2 separate regions of the Homo sapiens genome follow, and region 2 is linked to region 1. Evidence: promoter capture Hi-C in 16 types of primary human blood cells and fetal thymus (Javierre and others, 2016). All regions are on one chromosome and are shown on one strand. The core of a region is centred on a gene start or on the middle of the fragment in contact, and the rest is flanking DNA. Distances in the headings are between cores, read along the strand shown.

Evidence for each region. Contacts are between HindIII fragments. The CHiCAGO score rates a contact against its expected background, and 5 or more counts as called.
Region 2: a fragment that was not itself captured here is called in contact with the fragment with the promoter of NDST3 in region 1 in 1 of 17 cell types (endothelial precursors); the score reaches 5.4 in endothelial precursors.

The regions. Positions count from the first base shown.
Region 1 is chr4:118,032,901-118,039,799 of GRCh38, reverse strand. NDST3 (N-deacetylase and N-sulfotransferase 3) reads right to left here and starts at 5,314. Exons shown (of 14, transcript NM_004784.3): 1 at 5,208-5,314. The HindIII fragment of the contact is 5,573 bases long and covers 5,004-6,899 here.
Region 2 is chr4:115,085,166-115,091,719 of GRCh38, reverse strand. The region is part of intron 1 of NDST4 (N-deacetylase and N-sulfotransferase 4); the gene reads left to right. Among named protein-coding and RNA genes, the nearest start is that of NDST4, 25 kb to the left of the region's middle. The HindIII fragment of the contact is 1,142 bases long and covers 3,023-4,164 here.

The sequences.
Region 1 (6,899 bases), core at 4,065-6,564:
AAGAGATAATCTCTTTTCTGTCTCAGGGTCTTTCCACATGCTGCTACCTTTGTCTGAAAGTTTTTTCTCCACTTCCCCATCTGGTTTCATCTTCCAAATCCTATGGTTCTAAGTATATATATCCCTGCCTCACAAAAGTCTTCCCTGATCCCCCTTATCTGTCAGGCCTCCCTGTTACACATTCTCACATCACTCTCTACTTTACCTCTGTAGTATGTTCCAAAGTTATAATTAGTTATGTGATTTTCTGTTATAATTAGTTATGCAATTTTTCTCCATAGCTTGGAAGCATCTGTAAGTACTTGTCCTGTTCACTTCTATATTTTTAATGTCTAATAGAGTACTTGAAGTGAGAATAGCCCATTGAATATTTGTTGAATGAGTGAAAAAAGGCCTCTACTAAATTTTACAAATAGCAGCTGGCACTCACAAACTAGGGCAGTATTTAAGTCAAACCATCTTCTATGAACAGCTACCTTCATCAGTCACACTGGCCTCAAACAGTCAAGGCAATAATATAAACATTGTGAATAGCAGTGACCACCTTGATCAGAGCCATAAATCAGGCATATCCAGAATGTGCTTTTCACTGAAATTTACTCAATTACTTATTTTTTCCATTCTGAGATTTTTCAGAATTCAGCATGAATAGAGTTGCTTTGCAATGCATCTGTTTTTAAAAAGACTCCACCAAGCAAATATTAACCATTAATTATTTACCATTAACAAAAGGCAGAAGAAGCAATTAGTTTTTGGAATCACAGACAATTCCATAACATAGTGAAAGAACTCAATATATACAAACATATATTCTGCAAAGTATTGCAATATCTGCAAGGGGAAGTGCCTGCTTGTCAATGTAACCTATCTTTTCTCTTCCACTAACACCCACCATCATCCCAAAGTAAAAATCAATTTCTAAATGAAATAGAATCATGTTAAAGTTGGCAGTACAAGAAAAGTGAAAAAAGATTACCATCTGGAAAATGAGTATTAATAACTAAAGAGCTTCAGGTTCTAACATAAATGAAAGATATTTAAAAGATCCTGACAATATTCCTTTTTCTGAAAAAGGAATGAACTATAAAACTATATTTTATAATGTTGAAAAATGCAGTGGGAGGCCTCAAATATGTTACATGGACTTGCTAAAAGTAATTTAGTAATAATAATAAAAATTGACAAGGGCAAGCTTTTCTTTGGGAAAGAATGTGTGAAATTGTGTCATGTTAATTAAACCCTGCTGTGGTAGGCAAGTAAGAAGCTGATTTACATGGAGTATGACCAAGAATACACTCTGTCTCTAGAACTGCAATTTTTAAAAGATGGATGGGAGAAAAGCTGCACTTGAGGGCATTAGCTTTGTTTGGTACATTAAATGGAAAATGACTTTCTATTATCATTCTCCCTCCATCTTTGTATTAGAAATTATGAAGAGAAGAATATGTTTTATTCACCTCCCTCAGTGTTATGCCATCCAGTGATGCAAGAGAAGAAAACTACCCCACTGCTGTTTGCTGTTTATTCTGCCCTATATGACTTAAGGGGGAAAATGTCTGCCTTTACCCTCTAAGATTGGACCAGAATGCATGCATCAAAATACGCTGACATATTCTGTCACACATGCTCACATATGACATATGTGAGTGCTGACAATGCAGCTTTTAGGGTCTAATCCAAACCTTTTCTTTGTCCTTCATTAGACTCATGGGAACAAGAGAGTGTTAACCTGGCCTCTCATTGGTTGCCTGGACCATTAGATGTAAAGTTACAGATCAGTGTTGGCTATGTTTTAGGGCAGGTTACATGAACCAGATAAGGAAAGACAGCCAATCTGCAGAGAGAAGATGATGCAAAAAGAGTAGAAACGAATAATGAAAAAATATGATATAGGGAGTCTTGAGGAGGTTGAAGGTTCTATTACTCTCTATTCTATGGACACATCAATAAAGGCGTCAGGTAAATTATTCTTCTGTTACCTTGGGCACATTTTAGAACAAGTGAGACTCAACCTAACAGCAGTAGCAAAAGAGGAGAAAGAAATCACCTGAACTAGACTGTATATACTTAGCTAGGGAAGGCACCACATTTAATTGTCCTGTGGACTCCTTTATGCCTGGTGCAAAAGTAGATGCTTAGTAAATACCTCCTGGGTGAATGAATGAGTATTTCATATGTAAGGGAAGTGATGGAAATTGTTGGAGTGGTATATGGATTACCTCTGTTCCATCAAGAGGCATATCAAGAACAAATATTTGAAACCTATAGAGAGACAATGTAGTATAACGGTTAAAGGAATGTGTGCTGGAGCCGGACTCAAACTGCATACCAGCTTCAGCACTTGCCAGGGATGTGATCTTAGGCAGGTAGGTAACCGCTCAGTGCCTCAATTTCCTCATTTGTGAAACAGGAATAATATTTACCTTAAATAATCTTTGTGAAGATTATATGAGCTAAAAATTAATATGTAAAGTAGAACAGTGCCTGGTACAAGGTAACTATTCTATGAGTAAAAACTGTAACATCTCTACTTAGCAGAAATCTAGACAATAGTACTTATCACCAAGTTAAATTTTGTATTATTCACTGATGTTTTCTCATCTATCTTCGTCCTGGCCTCCAGATCAATTTCTAAAATGTTGAACAAACAGGATAAAAAAGGGTCTCTGGAATCCTCATTTTTCAGGTGAAGAAACCAAGCCCCAGAGCCAGCAAGGGAGCTGTTCAAGGCCACTCCTGTCTTGGCAGAGCCAGTCCTAGAATTTAGGTCTACTTTCATGTTATTTTCAAATATTTTAATGAAAAAAAAAATTCAGCAATGAAACACATGTAAAATGGATACCCATAATTGAGATGCTTAAAGGTTTTAGGATAGGACTGCAATAATTGATTTTTAAGCTCTTATTTGGCAACAGGTAATCAAGAATTATAGCCCTCAGTAATTTGTAGAAGATTTGGGGAAATAATTTCTTATAGACATTAATTAATTGTAGTAGGTCCTGACTACTTTTTTTTTCTTGTCCTGTAACTTACATGAAATCGATGAAAATGTTTAGAGTAACATGAAAGAATAAATCACTCACTGTGATATCCAGGTATCTAAGAGTATAGTTTTTTACTATAAACAAACAGACAAACCAAGAAATATTAAAATCACCCCTTTACGAGAAACTTCAGTCATGAAATAGTTTTGAGGATTGTTCAGACTAATTATCTTTATAATGTAGGTCGTTACTTTTGTGGCCTGGCAGCATTCCTAATCTGGACAGGTGTTCAGAGTTCATGCATTTCAGTGTGAATGCTCATTTATAATAGACACAGCACAGGGAAAGTAAACTTCTACTGTTTTCCCTTACTGTCAGAACTGTTAAGCAATTAGAAATTCAAGGCATTCATTTAGTTGAGAATAGTGTTTTTATCCTTAATTCAATTTCCCTGATTTTATAGTGTATATAAATCACAAAGTATTTACATATAGTTTAAAAAAATATATTTTGCATCTTAACAAATGCACTTTTAAGGCTCTAATCACCAAAAAGCAGCTGAAACTCAATCAGGTTTCAAGGAAGTCATATAATCAGAGTCCCAAGATTAAAAGAAAAAAAATTGTAATTTCTTTACAGTTTTAAAATTTTGAAATGACAGGTAGACAATTACATATTTACATTTTAGCTTATAATAACTTCTTTAGCAGAATATATGGTTTAGAAAAAGAATCTCCAATGCCTGATTATCTCTTCTACTATATATTTTTTAACAAACTTTTCAGTTACACCAAAAATTAATATTTGCCTCAATGTTCAGAAATAATGCTTTTCTCAAGAAAATTAATTTAAAAAGAGGGTATATATAACTCCACCAAACTAAACTATAACAAATATCTCCAGAAAGAGATAAAAGTTTTATTTTATCTAAAACATTTTAGTAATGTAAGAATTCTTCATTTTAAAGACTATGAAGAAAATTAACTCATGTGACAAGCTCAAAATTAACATTATTTACACAAAGAAACAAATCTTCTGTTTTACCATCAAGATGATAAAGAAAAATGATAACAAAATTAGAAATGGTAGATACTGTGTTAACCAGAGAAAGAAAAAAAAGAGCTTATCTTAGGCAAGCCTCTTTATATGTTCAGTACTATTTTAAAAAGGAGCCTCCTTCAAACTTATATTTGAAATCTCCATCTTAAATATAATATTGATAGGAAGGTATGGATGAAGAAAAAGGGAAAAAAATTCCCTTCAGCTGAATATCGGATATTCTAGAGTTTCTCTGCCATATCATCCTGCTCTCTGGTGGTGAACAGCATTGCTCAGTAGTTGATAACATGAAATTTTCTAAGGGCAAAAAAAAAAAACAAAAAAAAAGTGTGTGTCCCAGATCAGTTGCACACATCTCAATATTTGATTTGTATTTTAATTTAATACAAATGTATTAAGAATGTAGCTGTTTGCATTGTCTAGAAGGGTTTTCTTCTAAACTCTTCCAGATTACATGTTGCTATATTTCAATATGTTTATAAAGAATATAGATACTAATACATTTTCGACATTAAATAACTCTGATGCTTAAACAGTATCCAGCTATTAGAAAAACTATTTGAAAAAGGATCTGAGTAAACCCCTTAAAGATGTAACTTTGCTTTTACCTGCCCCCACAAAATGGATATATTAAATAGAAGATATATCTGTTTTCTTTAAATTTAAAGTTTCTGTATTTGATACCTAGATTGATTCTTTCCATTTCCATTTAATTTTATTAATTGTATAGTTTTAAATAATGTCTATAAACTGCATCAAATAGAAAGCCTTTTGAGGATCATTACTGTGTAGATAGGCAGGTAGTTTAAAGTCTCTGATATTCCTTACAAAATTCTGTCAAGGCAACAGACATGTGTTCTGTTAAACAGATCTACTTCAGAATCATTATAAGTTGGTGAATATCTTAAACAATTACAAGAGGTCATTTCTTTAGTACCATAATCTTATGAAAGGGAAGCTTTAAAATCATCCCTGAATGAGACGGTCCTTTGTTTCACTTAATTTAATCAAAATACTCTATATTTCTTCTTCAAGAATAAAATGAAGCACTTGTTCAATCTTGAAATTTTTAGATTATTTGAAAGCAAAGTTGTTATCTCTTAAAAGCCCCTACATTTATGAGTGAGGCATTAATGCACAGTATAAATAAATAAATACACTTACCTGGAATTAAAGTTCAGAGCTGAAAATGCTTGAGAAAGTTGCAATAGATGGAAAAGAAACGGAAACAGTACCACTCGTTACCATCGGCTCAGGCTTTTTGACTTTACAAGTGGTAGCAACACCAGTCCTGGCCCAGTACTCTCATGTTATGTAACATCTTATTAATATTAGCCATCAAACTGCTACCAAGCTGGTGAGGCACTAGAGGGCAAGAGTGTCACATGCAAGACCCGTCGCCAAGGGACCGGCTTTGGTACCACTTCGGGGGAAGACAGATGCTAACTAAGCTGATGAATAACAGGATGCCCGAATACAACAGCAAACTTGTAACGTTCCTCAAAGAATATTTTACATGTCAATTTTCTGACTAGCGGAAGAGTTAACAGGTTAATAAATATGAGCAAGCAAATAACCACACCATGAAAAACTTTTAGGATTATATTTACAAACCCACAGTCACTCAAGAGGCTGTTTGTTTTTTTCTTTCCATTGTCTAAATAAACTTATTTAAAACAGGAGAAAAAAGCTGGTTAAATAAAACGAGTGTCGGTTTCAGGACTCCCTCATTCCAAGCCGCGAGAAACTTGTCTGGTCGAGATGCCGCCTCTGGAGTCCGCATTCCAAGGCGCCCGGATCGGGTTTCTGGGCGAGGAGACCGGCCCCGTCCTCCATGGAGATTACCTGGGGCTGCAGCCGTCCGCGGGCTCCTCCTTCCCTCGGGTCTTCGGCCTCAGCCGCTCCCCAGGGCCCCTCGTCCGGGTGGCGCTTGGGTGCTACGCGGTGCCCGGGGTCCGGCGGGGGCGACAAGCGGGCGACCTCTCCCCTCCGCGCCCGGGATCTGCGCGGACACAGCTGGTGGCGACTTCGGCCGCTCAGGCTGCGGCTGCGGGGCGAGCGCAGCGGGTGCGCCGGGGACTCCTGCGCTGGAGAACCACGGCCCTGGGACCCGCCCGGCCGCGCCTCCGCCGCCCTCGCCACCGCCTCCCGGGCGGGAGCCGCCGCCTCCCAGCTCCCGGCCCGCGCGCGCCCGCCCCGGGGAAGGGGAGGGAGCGGGAGCTGAGGACGGGAGCCGCCTCCATCGACCGGGCTCCCGCCCGGACCGGCCCTGAGGATCTGGCTGCCCGGGCCTCGACAAGGAGACCCCGGGGGTTCCGCCCCGGCCTGCCAGTTCCGACCGCCCCTCCCGGCGGGTTGGCGGCGGCCGCCAAGGATGAAACGTCTTGTGCGGCCAGGGAAAGGGGTGCGAGTCCCCGAGGCGACGCTGGAAGGGTGGGGCGCACCCGCGCGGTCCCTTCCTGTGGTGCTCCTGCCGTTGGCACTGGACCAGGGCGGCTGCGAGGCTGCAAGAGTTTCCTCTGTTCGCCAGTTTTTTTCAAATGCCATGTGTTTCAGCTCCTGAAGACAAGTGGAAGGCCAGCAACTGAAGAGATATTTTGGATTCAAGGTGTGAGGTTACCCTCTCCAGAACTATAGTTTGATTAGAAGTGTGAATCGAATGATATATATTTTTAAAAATTTCATTTGGTTCCACTAACATGTGAATTGTATTAAGTGGGGTCTACTAATGATACTTTGTATTGGCCATTTGTGGTTTTGCTTCCCAGCACTCACTCTTGTTGAAACAGTACTCCTGTTCATTTTGGAAGATCCAACCACTTGATCTCACCCCGCAGCCCATTTGCTTTAGGTGAT
Region 2 (6,554 bases), core at 2,344-4,843, 2.9 Mb after region 1:
TATCTTTCAAATTAGCTACAAAACAACTGCATATGAACATGTATTTTCACAAATTCTCATGTAAATGATAAATTATAATGGAACCACATAATGTGACAACTTTAAAATATAACTATGAACAATAGAAGTTGGTATCCAGAAAGCCTAATTTACAAATAAATTATAATGCCATTCTAAGTGGAAATTGTAGCCACAATTTTAAGTTATTTCAAATATAGCTCTTGTGTTTTTTCTTTCTACCTCACAATTGAGAAGAAGAGTAGATGGAGAAATAATCTAAACCATGGTGTACACATTTGTCTTTTGTATATAAGTTGTTCATATTGTTCATTTTATGTTGATTTTGGATTCTTAAAAAATAAATGATTAATCCTTTGAGCAGATTCAAATATTTAGAAATTTTGTCATTTCTTGTAAATGAAATTATTACACACACGTTTGCATAACAGAGAAATATAAAATGAAAAAGCAAATTTATTTTGCCAAAACAAATGCATATTATTGTATATACTTAAAATAAAATAAATATGATACTGGACAAATGTTAATTTGAAACCAAGATGTATCAAAATTTGTTTTAGATATATATGAATTGTAGATATTGTACCTCTCTTCCTTTCAGAAAAAGATTTAGACCTTAAAAGTTCACAAAAATTAGCAGAATATTAAACAGAGGTGATGTTTTATTTTTTCTTCTTTTGTGCACAACAGTAACAAAAAGATGTATATTGAAAAACAGAAATAAAACTTCAGAAGCAGGGAACCATACAAGCAATATAAAAATGGCTGTTCATTACAATGTGAAGAAGAGAATTGATTAAAATGTATTTGGTGTGTAATTGTGGCAAAATTAGTATTTTAACATTGAGTCACTGATCTTTCGCTGATGTCAACAGCACGATGCTCATCCTGAGAGCCCAGTTACCTATACTCCCTGGACTTATCTAGTTAACACTTTCTTTAGTTTAGTAACCTGTCAATGGAGAACAGGTGCTGTTGGCCTATTTTTGCAATAAAAGCAAGAGTATATTGCCCTCTAGTGTTGAAAAAGTTAGGAGACCAAAAGAGTGTTCAGAAATACCCATTAAAAAAATCAAATTTTTTATTTTCTCCTTTCACATAAACGTGATATACCGATAGACAGGTTATTATTTCCTAATTCTAGAAAAAAATATCAAATATAATTAACAAATCTGTTTTATGGCCTGTTATAAAAAAAGGTGACTGGATTGAGAATAAATTATTTCATTTTATTATGTTATCTTTCTGTAATTTAATTAGATCCTTTTTCACTTTAGTTTTGGCTGAGTATTTTACAACTTTAGGAAATATTCATTCCTTATAATAAATTATCTTCTATCATTATTTTGGATTTTTAAAAAATAAAAATTAGGTGTAAATATCATTTTTTAAAAATGTTTTAAAGTCAAGAACATAACTCTGTAGAATAGGTTATTCTATTGGTAGAGGTACTTTATAGGTCCTTTATAGCTGTGTTTTGTGCCTAGTAAAAATATATATTTCCTTCTCTGAAATACAAGAGAAAGGATTGAGTAGTAAAAAATTCATTAGAAAAAGTCTTCTAAAAATAACATAAAAAATTAATGATTGAGGTAGAAATGATATATTTATCATTGTATTTAAAAATAATCAGCTGAGACTTTTAAATAATACTGCAATAATACTGCATGTTACACTTAAAGTTGGTGAAGATGGTAGATCAAATTTTGTGTGCTTACCAAAATATAAAAATAAAATTAATATAAATAAATAGATAAATTCTGTGGGGACATATACCAATATTAATATAATCCAGATTTCTCCAGACCTACATATCCTGTGACTACAAATGGGGTCTGGTTGATAATCAGTAAACTTAGAGATAATTTGGTGCAATTGGTTTTCCAATTTTCAAAACTTTAGGCTTGATTCTGAGATCATTGTTCCAATAAAAAACTATTAAAACATTATAACATTGAACGTCAATTTAACTGACTTACTCAAGATTGTTACTAATCTACTGTGTGTCTAATTTAGTATTGGGTTATGCTTGAAGGAAAATAAACTAAGTAGCTTATTGTGAAAAGAGAAGCTTTTTATATAGATTAGGCTATTGAAAATGTACCCACAGTCTTCTGGGGAAGACACATAAACCAGTTATGTAAAAATGCAAAGGTATTATAAAAAAGATAAGGACAATATATTCTTCAGAGATTTAGAGGAAGAAAGACTACCAGAGACAGGCATGAATAGGAAAGGCTTGTTATTCATAAGATTATAGAATTTTATAGTTTGAAGCAAACTTACAGTTATGAAACTCACCCATTTAAAAGATCCTACATTTTTGTGCTTTTATACAGCTAGTATATGATTCTTGAAAAAAATGAAATAATATAGAAAATACAAAACAGAGACGATCAATATTTTGTTGAGCATCCTTCCAAATCTTCCCTGATGAGTGTATACATGGAAATAGAAATATAAACCATTTTATATCCTTCATTTAGAAAATGAAGAAACTGAAGTTCAGACTCCTTCCATCCACCACCTTTCCCAACAAGTGTCTGGAGAAAAGATCATTTGAGTTGTACCTTGGGGTAGAGAAAGAAGGTGAATATATTCAAGACATAAATATGGTTATTGTTGTTTTGGCATAATTGTTTTGTGCATTAAATAGCAGGAAGTTTACAAAATGCAGAAGATTCAATTCTAAATAAATCACAGTTCCTGCCTTGGTGGAAATCCATGAATAATTACTCATTTAAAATGTCTGTGTTATAGGCTGTACTATGACAGCATTGTGGAGACAGACACACTCACTAAACTAACTTCTGTAATGCCAGGGGTGACTTTTTTGAGGTAGTTTTATCCAAGCTGAATCTTTCTAAAAATGAATAAGAACTGATTAGACTTAAAGATAAAAGAGATAACCTGGGTCATTCCAGAACTGTAAATGGTTCAACACATAAAGTGCAGGAATAACAAGATGAAACAATTTATAAGAGTAAACTCTCAAAAAGCTTGACTCTGAAGCTAAAGAGAAAAATTAGGGCAGTTGCTTGGATTGGGGGCGGGAGTGGGGGTGAGAGTGACAGAAAATGTTATGAACATGGGCATGAGCTAAACTTCTTAACAAAATGATACCTGGAGTCTCCAACTAAAATAAACACAGAACCCAGAAACTAGGAAAGGTGAGGAAGTGGTAGGGACTGAAGCCATTCAGATACCTGAAGATTATAATTACAAATGAAACATTTAGAAGGTGTTTATGGTCTACAGATGAAACATTTAGATGCTGTTTATGGTCAATTACTAACAAAGCATTATACCAGTTTTTTAAAGTCCCTAGAAGAGAGAGGCTGAAGTTCTAGAAAATAGGTGGAGGCAAAAAAAAAAAAATTAACTTTAGAAGAGATATACATTATCTATGGAATCAGGAGGCAGATAAGGACAGTGAGAATTTTTCAGTTTGGGAAACATTAGTGGGAGGGAGTCAGCTTGGCTCCCTGCATAATTTTGAGCCAGTTCAACCTTCACTTTCTGTTTTTTTTGTAAAGTAGAAGATTGTGGAGCTAGGGAGAGGGACCATGTGGCTTAGAAAGTTATTGAAATCATCAAAATAGTATAAGTTGGGGAAATAGAAATAAAATAATGATGTATATTTCAAAGATGTCTCAATCACATTTCCCCTTTTATTATAACTATCATAATCTAAGTGTAAAAATAAGATAAAAATTATATTTTAAACTGTAAAAACACATTATACAGAAAAATATAGAAAGAAATAAGAATTTGTTAATGTTCATTTTATTTTTAATATTATGGGTTTTCAAAATTTATAATACTTTCAAGTATAAAATATACATAAATTTTGTTAAGAAAAAAAGCAGTTGAGTTTCTAAAACATTTTCACATCATCCTTGCTGATAAGTTACAGAAAAAAAGTTTACTTTTGAATGAAAATGGCTAATAATATTACATCTAAACAGGAAAGCATATCATGATATTATATATGATATTATATTTCCTCAGTCATCCTTTGTAGCTTCCATATAAATTGTTTATATGGAGTGAAAAAAAATCAAGATAGGAAATCGCAACATTGTTACATAGATTAGCAGATTAATGCCAACACTTTTCACATGAACTCCATTAGCATAAGCTTAAGTCAGTAACTTTAAAACCATCCACTGTCAAGGAAAAATATAAGAAAAGAAAAAAATTCTAGAGAAGAAGGGGAAATAGGAAAGGGAAGAAACAGAGAACAGATTAAAACAAAATAATTTAGATGTTTTTGCTGGTAATAAGAGAAATACTTGAATTTGCAGATGTACCTGGCAAATAGGCTCTTGATAAATGTTAATACATATATTTGCTGAATGGATGTCAGATAAATGCCTTGGCTTCTTACATAAAAGAGAAAAATAGGAGCAAATCCATGATTGAACTGAATTTTAGATAGCCTGTCTGGTTTCAGTTTGATTATAAATGTCCCATTGTAAATATTACCTCCAAATCTATACAAAATGAGACAGAGTCACAGATTTATCCCAAAGTCATCCTAAGTAAGGTCCTGAGGAAACTTTCTGAATGTCAGAAACCCTGGGGCAGATCTAAGCATTCAAAAATTGTTTAATCCTGTTTAATTCTGGTCCACACATTCTGGGCATTTGATTATTATTTTAGTAGTATAAGGGTAAAATTCAGTGATGAAATCTTAGCTATAAATATAAATACAAAGTTCCAAGCAGTGATTACCAGACCTCTCAACTTGGCCACGGATAGCATTTCTACTACTCTATCTAAATCTTATATGGCAAAGCAGAAGAAATATCCACATAAAAGTTTCTTTATTTGCAAAATCCCCATGTTTTTCTAATAAGCAAGATGAATGCATAGAAATTTGCAGTTGCTTTTAATAAATTAGACTCTTTATTTTTAAAAAATCATGTCCTTTCTTTGCTTTAGAAAATAAGAACTAAGAAAATGGTGAATAGGCACTATACATATTTCTGCAGGAAATGGTGATAAAAGAAACCGCCTGACATTTACTCTTCTATTTACTGAGTTGACTTCATAATCTTTTGAAGTATGAATGTAGCTGATAGCTCAGAGCTATGAACCTAGTATAATATTATGTTACAATATAATATTATGGTAGTAATGTTATCATTATGTTTGAAATGACACTTTTAGGAGTTTGTACTGGTAAAAATGCACACTTTGGGGACTAAAATAAATTTATATTATGTCACTGAAATCAAGAATATATGAAGTGTATGGAAGTTAGGTGATATCAACTGGTTATTTATGGGTATAGAAAAGATCATTTCTGCAGAAAATTATAAACTGGGCATACTACCTCGATTTTGATTAAATATAACAATTACTCATTACTTTGTACCTCTATTTTGAAAAATTTATGATTTATGTAGCAGTGGTTGCTACTGAAAATAATATCATAATATTTTTTGGCCTGGAAGCTGAAAGGAATTCCATGGGACCAACCATGTGATATCAACCATTTCATAGTCTCAACTACTATTTAATCAATATTGGATATTTTCCAAAACCACTCAGAATCATAAGAGACTGCATTGATCTTTAGCTAAAACCTTTATGATATTTATAATTCTTTTAACCAGATTAAATAATTTGAATTAATTGTGCCCTACTGAGTAGTGCTCCTCAAACACTTTTGACCATGACCCAGAATAAGCAATAATCTTACATTGGTATCCAAATACACACACATGCATATACGGACACCATAACATAAAGTTTCATAAAGCACTACTTACCTCTGCTGTACATGAAGTATGACAATATTTCTATTCTGGTCTACTTCATTTTCACTTACTTGTTGGTGACCTGTAATTTGAAAAATACTGCATCTCTCTTGAAAGATGAGGTACTAAGTCATTCTCACACTCTGTGGAGAAATACCCAAGACTGGGTAATTTATAAAGAAAAGAGGTTTAATTGACTCACAGTTCCACATGGCTGGGGAGGCCTCAGGAAACTTAAAATCATGGTAGAAGGCATCTCATTACAGGGTGGCAGGAGAGAGAATGAGTGCTGAGCAAAGGGGGAAAATCACCTTATAAAACAGTCAGATTTTGTGAGAACTCACTCAGTATCATGAGAGCAGCATGGGGGTAACCACCCTCATGATTCAATTACCTTTCACCAGGTCCCTTCTATGACACGTAGGAATTATGAGAACTACAATTCGAGATGAGATTTGGGTGGGAACACAGAGCCAAACCATATTATTATGGCCCTGCCCCTCCCAAATCTCATGTCCTCACATTTTACCCTTCCAACAGTCCTCCAAAGTCTTAACTCATTCCAGCATTAACCCAAAAGTCCAAGTCCAAAGTCTCATATGAGACAAGGCAAGTCCCTTCTGTTTATGAGCCTGTATAATCAAAAGTAAGTTAAGTACTTCCTAGATACAATGGGGGTACAGGCATTGGGTAAATATACCCCTTCCAAATGGGAGACTTTGACCAAAACATAGAGGCTACAGGCCCCACGAAATTCTGAAATCC